Linked DNA regions of Homo sapiens: regions 2 and 3 are each linked to region 1. The links are contacts of gene promoters, found by promoter capture Hi-C in blood cells and fetal thymus (Javierre and others, 2016). All regions are on one chromosome and are shown on one strand. Each heading gives the region's core, a stretch centred on a gene start or on the middle of the fragment in contact. The rest is flanking DNA. Distances are from core to core; before and after follow the strand shown. Region 1 holds the start of HAO2 (hydroxyacid oxidase 2). Region 2 overlaps SPAG17 (sperm associated antigen 17). Region 3 overlaps LOC105378930 (a long non-coding RNA gene).

Evidence for each region. The method cuts DNA at HindIII sites, captures the fragments that hold promoters and counts their contacts. A CHiCAGO score of 5 or more calls a contact.
Region 2: a fragment that was not itself captured here is called in contact with the fragment with the promoter of HAO2 in region 1 in 5 of 17 cell types (endothelial precursors, M2 macrophages, megakaryocytes and 2 more); the score reaches 17.6 in endothelial precursors.
Region 3: a contact is called between a fragment that was not itself captured here and the fragment with the promoter of HAO2 in region 1, in 1 of 17 cell types (endothelial precursors). The highest score is 6.6, in endothelial precursors.

What each region holds. Positions count from the first base shown.
Region 1 is chr1:119,366,860-119,370,404 of GRCh38, reverse strand. It overlaps HAO2 (hydroxyacid oxidase 2), which reads right to left and starts at 1,620. Exons shown (of 8, transcript NM_016527.4): 1 at 1,503-1,620. It overlaps HAO2-IT1 (HAO2 intronic transcript 1), which reads right to left and starts at 1,459. Exons shown (of 2, transcript NR_046780.1): 1 at 1,397-1,459; 2 at 74-321. The HindIII fragment of the contact is 4,151 bases long and covers 1,036-3,545 here.
Region 2 is chr1:118,158,289-118,161,833 of GRCh38, reverse strand. The region is part of intron 1 of SPAG17 (sperm associated antigen 17); the gene reads left to right. Among named protein-coding and RNA genes, the nearest start is that of SPAG17, 25 kb to the left of the region's middle. The HindIII fragment of the contact is 575 bases long and covers 1,445-2,019 here.
Region 3 is chr1:118,194,686-118,198,230 of GRCh38, reverse strand. LOC105378930 (a long non-coding RNA gene) reads right to left here. Exons shown (of 4, transcript XR_947746.3): 3 at 1,835-2,104. Among named protein-coding and RNA genes, the nearest start is that of SPAG17, 11 kb to the right of the region's middle. The HindIII fragment of the contact is 2,351 bases long and covers 421-2,771 here.

The DNA.
Region 1 (3,545 bases), core at 371-2,870:
TGGAAAGCTGCTTCAGGATTTGAGTATTTCTGTCATAGTATAATTTAAACCCTCTGTCAGATTTACTCATTAGTTTATCCAAGAAGGTTTATTGACACACACTCTCAGCCAGGGTGGCGGAGGCATATACTGCTCCCCACATGCTTAACATTTCGCTGTTGCTTAAATACAGGCATGGCTCTGTGACTAGTTCTTCTGGCCAATGGCCTGGGAGTGGGAATAGCAGGTGTGAATTCTAGGCCAAGGATTGAAGAGCTGGTATGTGACCCTCCAGCTTTGTTTCCTCCTCTACAGCGATCCTCCATCCTCAAGAAGGCAAAGCTGTAAGAGAAAGGCCACTTGGATTCCCAAAACGCCATTTGGAAAAGGGTAGCCCTGGAGATCAGCTGATATTGTGTAAGGAAGAAATAAATATTTATGTGTTATCTCACTAAGTTGTTAAGGTTTATTCTTTACTATAACATAGCCTGATTTAACATAATATATCAAAGTATTATGCTAAACACTAGAGATATGGGGGGGGACCTTTATCACATCAGTTTCTGCTCTCAAGAAGCTTACAGTCGAAGAAGACAGACTTTCATAGCTCATCATTTGATAGCTGATACGATTTAGAGTACAACAGGAGTCCCTTTGAGGGGAGAGTTACCTGGGAATTTGGCAATATTCCCATTACCTCTCAAATGATATACCACAAGTGATGTTCCACTCAATCTATTCTAGACAAGCTCCAATTCTCATCTATCTTTAAATTAGGTTATTACTGTCTATCTCATAGGGATCTTGTGAGAATTGAAGGATCTTGTAAAATGCAGAATATAGTAGTAGTTAAGAATAAAAGTTTGCGGATTTTGCTTCCTGCTAATGGACGCTTTATTCTGTTCCATTGATCTGTTATCTATCTTTATACCAGTACCTCCCTGTCTTCATTAGCGTTCTTGGCAGTTCTCCGCAGGTTGATCTGTAGATTCAACTTAACACAATCAGAGGCTCTTCATTAGTGGGACTTTGTAACCCATTTGTTCCAAATAAGCTTATTGCTCAAAGGAACTACATTGTTTGAGACACATTAACTTCTTTACTTTTTTAGGAGCATAGCCATGTCACTGTTTTCTTTTGCTTGTGGCCGGGAAGCAGTGGTCAGAATACTAAATATATCCCTGAAGGCAATAGCAATACCTTTTAGGTTTTCAGAACGCTGTCAAGTGAAAACATTTTAACCCATTTTTCCTCCTATGGACACCCACGAATATTCCACCATACAATTCTAAGACTCAACTTCCTAGACTTAACCTTCTCTGTCTGTATCCTTTTTGAAACCAAATCTTCCTTTGCCCATGCCCTCTGAGTTCCCTAACACCTGTCTCCCTAGGACCATCTTTGCCAAGGTCCTTGCCTTGCAAACTCATAGTTGGCTTCCACGATATCTTCCATTCCCATCCTATCTGGCACTTCATCACCCTTCTCAGTTCCAAGCACACAGAACACACTCAATGACAAACCTTATTCTAATGTCTTCCAGTCCTCAGGGAAAGAAGTGTTTAGACGCAGCCACTCAAAGCCTGGCTCACTGCCGGAGGTGTTAGGAAACACACCACATCACTACCCACAGTTCAGGCTAAAGAAGAGGCTGAAGTCTCAAAGTTAATCTTTTAATGAAAACATCCAGCTTAGCAGTAAATAAGCAACTAGGCCAGAGCAAGGTTGACTTTGAAAGAATTTTGCTGACTTTGCAAATTTACTTCAAAATTAAGTGAAGTTTATTACAAAATTAAACTTCAAAGTGAAGTTGTAATTTCCTACCTGAAATCACCCATTCCCTACCTCTAAATTCAAACTTGATGTTGTCCTCTGCTCATCACAGATTGTTAGAGGTAGGGAGTGGATGATTTCAGGTAGGAAATTACAAAAGTCCCCGGGTTGGAGGAGGGGCTTTTTGTGGTGATGGGGTTGGGGTGGGAGAAGAGCAAGCACAGCCTGGGAGCCCATGGGCAGGACAGCAGTGGGGACCCAGGCCAGGACGGTCCGAGCTTTGGGGATTTTGGAGGGTGCATAGTGTAGAGCCCTCCCTGCCCACAGAACTGTTCTGGGGAAGTAATTATGTCTAGATTAATATGGGAGTCAGGGAGAACCAGTGAAATTTTTGAGTGGAAAATTATTCAGGAATGTAGAAGAAATGCTAGGAAAAGCAAACTTAAAAGTACATGGAAAAATAGAATTAATTTCTCCAGAAGAGTTCTGTAGGGGTCCCAGAAAGGTCACTAATTTGTCCAGGTCTGTTCGTCTCCACTCCTCCCCCAGCTCTTGCCACTGCTCCTTAGTATTGCCACAGCTCACGTGTGTGATGCGCTTACGACGTGCCAGACACACTACACGCATTACTTCATTTGATCTTCACGGAAGGTCAATCTTTTCAAGATTGTCTCTTTTTCAGAAGAGAAAATGAGATTAACGAACATGCCCAAAGCCTTTCAGCAGTAAAGAGCAGAATTGGGATTTGAACCTAGCCTGTAGCCAACACACGGAGCAGAGGAGGCCGAAATCCTGAGCTGTACCGATGACCATAGCAGTGGGGTTTGCCTTTCCTTTAGAACCTGTAGTTAGAGAGCAAAATGATGAATTTACCACTGACTTGTCATACCATCTCCACTCAAGGCTCATTGGCTATTTATTTGGAGGGTAATCCCTACCTGCTATCTAGCCACTAGAGGACAGTATTACCTCAAAAATGCTTTCAAAAGTAGCCAAAATCTGGGTTCTGGAAATTTCTTTTCCATAGCAATTTTCACAATCTCCATAATCAGCCTCTAGGCCATGTCCTCGGTCAGCTCTCACAACACCTGGCCTGCTCACAGTCCCCTGATCCAGACCCTCCCTTGCTGTTTTCCAGACTCCGACTCTGTCTCTCCCTTCCAGAAGGAAGCCTGGTGATGAGCACACACTGGAACATGGTGCTCAAGCTCCAAACTGCAGCCACTCACTCACTAACATCCACATGTTACTTAAATTCTCTGTGCCTCAGTTTCCTCATAATACCTCCCACACTGTAATGAGAAGTAAGTGAGTTAATACTTAAAAGATGCTGGCAGTAGATAGAAAGAACAGTAGAGCTTCTCATGAGAGATTCTCAAGTTTGAAATAATGACCTTCTTGGAGACCTTTTAAATCTGATGATTGCACTGAGTTAAAGAACATCATCTCTACAAGGTAACACACTCTAATATCAGCCTCTAATGTTTGCACCTAAGTGAACTAATCTCAAATAGGGGATATAGGGCCACAGGCAGAGCTATTTGAGGCAGCATTTTTGCAGCACCTCTTGAATTCCAGAGAATGGGTCCATGGATAAGACAGACCAGCTTTGGACCCACCAGCAGGCTTGGAGAATGTTTCAGGATGAGGTTATGAAAAGATATTGGTTTTATTCAGGTGGTCATAGGGTACCCATTGAGCAATATGCCTGCTTATTTTGGATGAAGAGAAATGTCGGGTCATTCTTGAGCTGTCATGACCTAGTCTCTTAGAAAGCAAATGTAGTTTCACAG
Region 2 (3,545 bases), core at 483-2,982, 1.2 Mb after region 1:
GCCGGACGCCGTGGCTCACGCCTGTAATCCCAGCACTTTGGGAGGCCGAGGCAGGCAGATCATGAGGTCAGGAGATCGAGACCATCCTGGCTAACACGGTGAAACCCTGTCTCTACTAAAAATACAAAAAATTAGCCAGGTGGGGGCGGGCGCCTGTAGTCCCAGCTACTCAGGAGGCTGAGGCAGGAGAATGGCGTAAACCCGGGAGGCGGAGCTTGCAGTGTGCCGAGATCCTGCCACAGCACTCCAGCCTGGGCGACAGAGCGAGACTACGTCTAAAAAAAAGAAGAAAAAAAACCTTCCCTATTAAAAAAAATGATAATTGCATGAAACTCTAAAGAAAGTTACAAGCATTCTCAGAAGAAAGATCTCAGGAACTACTTCAGACACCTCCACCCTCCACAATTTTATCTTCCCTCCCACTAGGATTGATTGATCTTGATTAATACTTTTACCCTCCACTTGTCTGTTTAAGGTCTGACCTCATTTTCCTTACCCTATGACAGGTCTCCACTGCCTTTTACTTTCCTAGCACAATTGCTATGTCCTGAGCAGCTGGAGAAGTCAGGATTACTGCACAGCTCCAGCTCTGGACACTAATTCCCTCAGTAAAACCCAGTCAGGGCCACTGATGTTAAATAGCCTTTACAAGAAATAGTCTCTAGAAATTTATTTCATGATACAAGCATTGTTTGCTCATTTTCACACTCCCATCTTAGTCATTTTGTGTATCCCTTAGTTTGTTACATCATATACATTTAGTCATACTAATGTAATAAATGCTTGTTGAGCTGCACGACTACTCATTTTTGTTGAATTGAGGTAGGGCACAGATTCCCTGACACTATTCTTGCTCAAGTTACAGTCTCATAGTTTTTCTGACACACCCCTAGGGAGTTATTGGAGAAATTCCCATCATTCCCTGCTAGCATAATACAAACTCAGCTCCCTAGAAGATCTGGCACTGCTCCCTGGATCCTCTTTCTTTAACTCTTCTTTCTCACCCTATCATTTGAAGACCATATTTGTAGACCTAAAAATCAGAACACATGGTCAGACACATCCTGCTTTCAGATATTAGGGATATTATGAGATATGTAATTGGGCTGCCAAAATATTCCCATTGCTTGGACATTTTATTGAATTTGGGGAAGAATAAGATAGAGTTAGTGTAATCAGGGCAATCTTGTGTTTGTAGAAGTAGCCCTGGATATGCCCCACTCAAGATGGATGTAGAAATTAAATTATATCCATGGCTTTGTAGTAAACAAGGGATAAATGAAGACGCTTGTATTCACTGTAAGAAAATAAGTTGTCCATGAGATTGAATTAACCAAGCAACAGCATGGATGGCTCATGAGAATGAGTATTGGTCGGTTATTTTGTTTCTTCTGGGTAGCCCTAGTGCCAAGGCACAACAAATCCATGAAACATACACAAAGCTTAATGTATAAATGACATTTACAATACAGGAAGGAAGATAGAAAAACAAAGCAAAAGGGCTGCAGTAGAGTAAGTAATGAGCTAACATTAAGTCTTAAAAATATATCTTATTTTTTAATGTGGAAGATAGTGATGCAACATTGAAGGAACTCAATCAAGGTCAAAGAAGGTCTCGTGCTTGAGGAAGGAGTTGATGAAAGGTTGTAGCTTTTAATATATGATGATGAAAAGAGATCTCCTTTTAGGGCGGGTGAGTCTCTGATTCCAGTTTTACATTTCTGGAGCAATTAGCAGGACTCCTCTTGGCTTTTCTTGGTCTCCTCTGTTAGAAGAATGTCTCTGATATGTAATATTTGTTTCAAAACCCAAAGAAGCTCGTTTCCTTTTGAGGTTTGCCTTACTTTTTATGTTCTGAAGTTCATTTTGAACCTCAGATTTTGCTCCAAGCCATAAAACTGGTTGGATTGTACTAACATAATGGAGCCGTAATTTCAGCCCACTGTTGGGGGTGGGGAGATAGTTAAGGTGTGTAGTGGCTCTGTGGTTTCTCTGTGGAGTAGAATTCCCTGCAAAGCTTTTCCATGTGGTGTTTTAATAGCTGTCTTAAAACTCTCTGATGCATGGAGCAAAACCGAATTAAGCTCATGTGCTAGATTGGTGGGATGGGCCAAGAACTCTGTGAAAAACGAAAGAAAAACAATCAAACAGCCTAAGCCAGAGGCTACACGGTACAAAGAAGATCCCCAGGACATATCTAAATTCAAAATTCAAAATTACTGCAGCAGTCACCTCTTTTAACCCATTTTTGCAGAACTTTCTACAGGAAATTAGAATATTTCCCTTGCATATATTAATATTTTACATTTATGTGGTACTCAACAAATTTACAAAAGGACCCTAAGTGTATTCATTCTTGGGTCCTGCAATAGTCTTTTGAAAGTTGTATTAATAGATTCATAATTTTAAATGAGAAACTGAGTCACAAAGATAAGCCCAAGGTCATTTGGCTAAGAAACCACAGAGGCAGAATTTGACACTACCCAAACCTCTCTGCATACCTACACCAGAACTTCAATAATTTTAATTAGTCACATTTAATATTTATGAAGACAAGGAAAACCAGCCAGACAGTGTATACATGCACAGTAAAGCTGTTTCTAGACTACTGTGTTTTCATCAGTGAATATAAGCCATGTACAGTGTTGTCTAAACATCAAAGGAATGCGCTCTTTCTCTAATTCAAATTCTGGGTGATTCAGAGGCATGACTCCTTCCAAAGTGCTGAGTTTGGCTGATAAAATGCCACATACTCAGTCAGCCCTCCCATGCTAAGCATGTGTAAAAGTTCTCTTTAGTGTGTGGTTTTGGCTGCTAAGTTCAAGAAACATTTATTGAATGCTTCTATATGCTAGGCACATGGGTGAAGCAGGAAGTTGTCTAGGGGTCTGTTCTGGTATAATTCTAGGGGAGCCTTTTCCACTGGACCAGTCCACAGCCTTAAATACCGCCATTAGCAGGGCATCACTTTGAGTTAGTCCAGGAGTCACTGGGATTCCTTTTTGGAAATGCAGATATTAGAAGAAATACTTCAAAATGGTCCTAGCACTAAAGCCTCTGGGTGTGTATATATATATCTATAATCAAATCAACTCTTAAGACTCTGAGCTGAATAGCAGGTAATACCTAGGAGAAGGAGTTAGTAGATTCTGCTAAGGTCTGTAATGAGCCCTGTGAAGCCAGAATATAGCGGCAGGCCAGGAAACGTGTCTTATTGCACTAAGGCTCCCTATCAAAAATAAACTTCAATTTATTTCTTTTGTTTTTATTTTAAGAACTAGCGCTGCATGACATCCATGTTTTAGACCTTGATGCCCAAAATTGATCAGATTAATATTTGCAGTTCAACCAGCAAACAACTGATTCATTTTCATATTTTTTAAGCCAAGTAAGCAGATCCACATCTCTAATGAAAAGTAGCCTGAGGCTGCTTTCTTCCCCTAGTCCTCTGTATGGCCACCTCAGAGGTGATCATCTTCATAGTCAGCCAGTGCACAAAATCTAAAACTCAGTGTCTTCTCATTTGACTCTAATTGATAATTGGT
Region 3 (3,545 bases), core at 347-2,846, 1.2 Mb after region 1:
ATGAAAATTAGAAATTGTAAAGCACTAAATAATAATAAATCCTCTATATATTAATGCTTGTGATATGAAGCCAAAGTAGCAATTAGAGGGAAACATGAGGGCTTAAATGATTATATTACCAAATTTAAAAGGCTAAAATTAATGTGCTAAGCGTTCAACTTTATAAATTTGAGAACAGAATATAGAAAATAAAAGTAAGGAAATTAAAAAGGGCAAAACATAATGAAACAGAAAACAAACACGCAATAGAGAGGATCAAACAAGCCCAAAGTTGTTATTTGAAAGACTAGTAACATTGACAAATTTCTAGAACATTTACTCAAGAAAAAAGAAGGCAAATATAATGACCTTCAGAGTGAAAGAGATATAATGATAGATTTTCAATGAACAGCAAAGAAAAGTATTAAAATCATTAAAGCTTTAAAAGCATGAAAATCTTTTCAGTAAACAGAAAAGAGAAGCATTAAAATCAGAGGTACTTTACAGTTTTGCATCAATAGAGATTGTCTTCATAAGAGAATAACACAGGTCCTCCAATTCGAGATAGCAGTAGGTGATAACAAATCCCATATGAATTTACATGTGAGTGGCAATCATAAGATGCCACCCTAAACAAAGCACCTTGGTAATACCGTATGATTCTTTACATAATCCTATACTCAAAAATGAGATGTGAAAGACCTTTCAAATGTGCAACACAACTGGGAGGTACACTAACACTACTCTTATTTAGCACTAAGCCACTCTTCTGCTGGAGTGTTTTAACGAAAGGTGAAAACCCCACAGGGCAAAGAGCTGACAGAGGAGAAATGAGGGTAGAGAGGAAAACGAATGATTAATAGAAAGTAGTGCCATCTTGGAAGTGGGAGAATGGACTATGGTGGGAAAATGCAGAGAGATATGGAAATAGGCTGTTGTGATTGATGTCATTCCTTGGTAGTACCAAAGAACTAAAGTAAAAATGTAACATGTAAACTGGATTCTAAGCTACATGAGAGTAGGGATAGTATCCGCCAGACTCTCTAATCCTCAGTGCTGAGCACAGGGCCTGGCATATAATAGACACTCAACAAAATTTGTTCAATGAATCAATAAGTGAATGAATGAATAGCTAATAAAATATTAGCAGGCTAGAAGGAAACATGTGGTACTGGATTAGAGTGGGAAATATCAGTGTGAACTCGTGTTTACCTTAATATAGACAGAAATAGATAAAGAAGTAATTTTGTGTATATATATATATGTGTGTGTATACATGGGTTATTTCTTAAATCAGTCCACTGAGAGGGCCTAGAAACAAAAGATACTCCAGTAGCAATCAGCATGTTCAACCATTCTCCAGGAAAGAGAACCAGGGCTCCTTGGAAAACTGGCTGCTTCTAGGACAGGGTCAGGTAATATGCAAGATGAATGAGGCTGAAGCATCTGTAGTGCCAGAAAATAAAGAAAAAAAATCCAATAAAGGGGTATATTAAGGAGACGCAGAGCCAATTAAAAGACCTCGCAAATATCAAAGCTAGGGCAACTGACTGAACAATAAAGTAAATAAATATTATAGTACATTGGGAATACAACCCAAAGGATAAACATTCATGAGTCATTACTGAGGTAAGCAAATGACTGAATAAATAAATTAATGAGGTAGAAAATTTCCCATACAGAAAAATTTCAAGTTATTTATGTAGGAATAGATACTACCCCCCTAAAGCATGTTGGAGTGTAACTTCCCATACTTTAAGGGTGAGCTGCACGTAGTGACTTCCTTCCCAAAAACACAGTAAGGAAAGGTACGGGGAGGGGAGTAACTTTGTAGAGAAAAAGCCTAATAAACTACCTCAGCCAGGACATCAAGGTTAACATCATCGATGTTAATTCATGTTAACAGCATGTACCCTTGACATGATGTGATGAGAATGGCACTTCACATCTTTGGTCTTTTTCTCCAACCTTGTAACTCCAGGCTAAGCATGAGAAACACTTCACAAATTATCATACCACCTCAAAATTGTCAAAGTCATCAAAAACAAAGTTTGAGAAATTGTCAGTCTGCAGGAGCCTAAGGAGACATGACATCTGAATGTAATGTAGTATCCTGGGTGGGCTCCTGGAACAGAAAAAGGACATTGGGTTAAAACTATTCGTTAGCATATTAATATTAGTTCATTGTTGCAACAAATATACCATACTTAATTTAAGATGTTACCAATAGGGGAAACTGGATGCGGATACATGCAAACCCTCTGCACTATCTTTGAAACTTTACTGTAAAACTACAACTATTCTAAAATAAAACATTAATGTTTAAAATATTAGCTAACATTTATCAAGGGCATAGTATGTGCTATGAACTGTTCTAATCATTGATAGCTACGACTTTCACCTTCACAACAGTCCTACAATGCAAACATAATTATTCCCATTTCATTTTTAAAAACAAAACAAAAAAGTGAAGCAAAGAGGGGTTAAATAATTTGCTCAAGGTCATCAAACAGCCTACAAGGAGCGGTGAAGGGAATTGAACCCAGGAGAAAGAATGTTGTTCTCTTAGCACAAGATGCCCTGTGAAAGTGCCTCTCAGCCCTGTGATTGGATTCTCCAATTTTTAATTAGCCTCCTGTGTTGAAGAAGGAGTATATGACAAGTTGAACAGCTAATATCAGGAGGAGTTTTAGAAACTGTGATAACAAATAGCTTAATAGGGTTTCAAACGACTACCAGACTGAACAGGGAGGGAGAAGAGATTATGGGTATAAATGTGAGTAACTTAAGCTTTATAAAAACAATTTCCATAAAATGAGGAATTTACTTAGTGGGATAAAATTGGCAATGGTTATTACCCAAAAGTATAATAGTGGAAAATAGCCACACTCTAAAGGATTAAGACAGCCGGCTCAGGTGAAGTGCATACAGTTATTCAAAAATAATCATAAAAGTTTTAAAATGTGGATTATTGGCAAATTGTGTAACTTGATTTTGAACAAAAATAGAAGCCTAAAGATTATAACTAACCAGCTTTAAGAAAGAAAGAAAGACAGACAGAAAGAAAGAAAGAACCATGGGAGCATAAAGAAGGTACTGCTATTTACAAAACAAAAAGTAAAGCACAAAAATCAAAGCATAACAGACAATGAAGTTTTGTTTAATATAGTTGAAATATAAGAAAGAGCCAATAAAGCTGTTATTTGGGTGGGCAGAGTTAGAAACAGTTGGCTCCCATAAAGGAAATGGCAGAAGACCTGAACAGATTCATTCAGAAGTGGAGCGAGACAGAGAAACCAGCCTACACCACCACCTTTAGAAGCATTATTTGTTCTGCTGATAGACTTGTGCATTGGCTGAAATTTTGTTTTTGAATGAGTCTTTTCTTAACGTTTTCCTTTGCTTCCTACTGTCTGACTTCAAGTGCTTTCTTTTTTCTCATATCCTTTCCTTATATTCATTTTTGTCAACCAAATGGTAAAACTTTTGTTGGACGTTTTCTGAGAATGTGTATTTGAAAGCGGACAGAAATGCAATATAGGGCCTTTCCCTCAGTATGACATAAT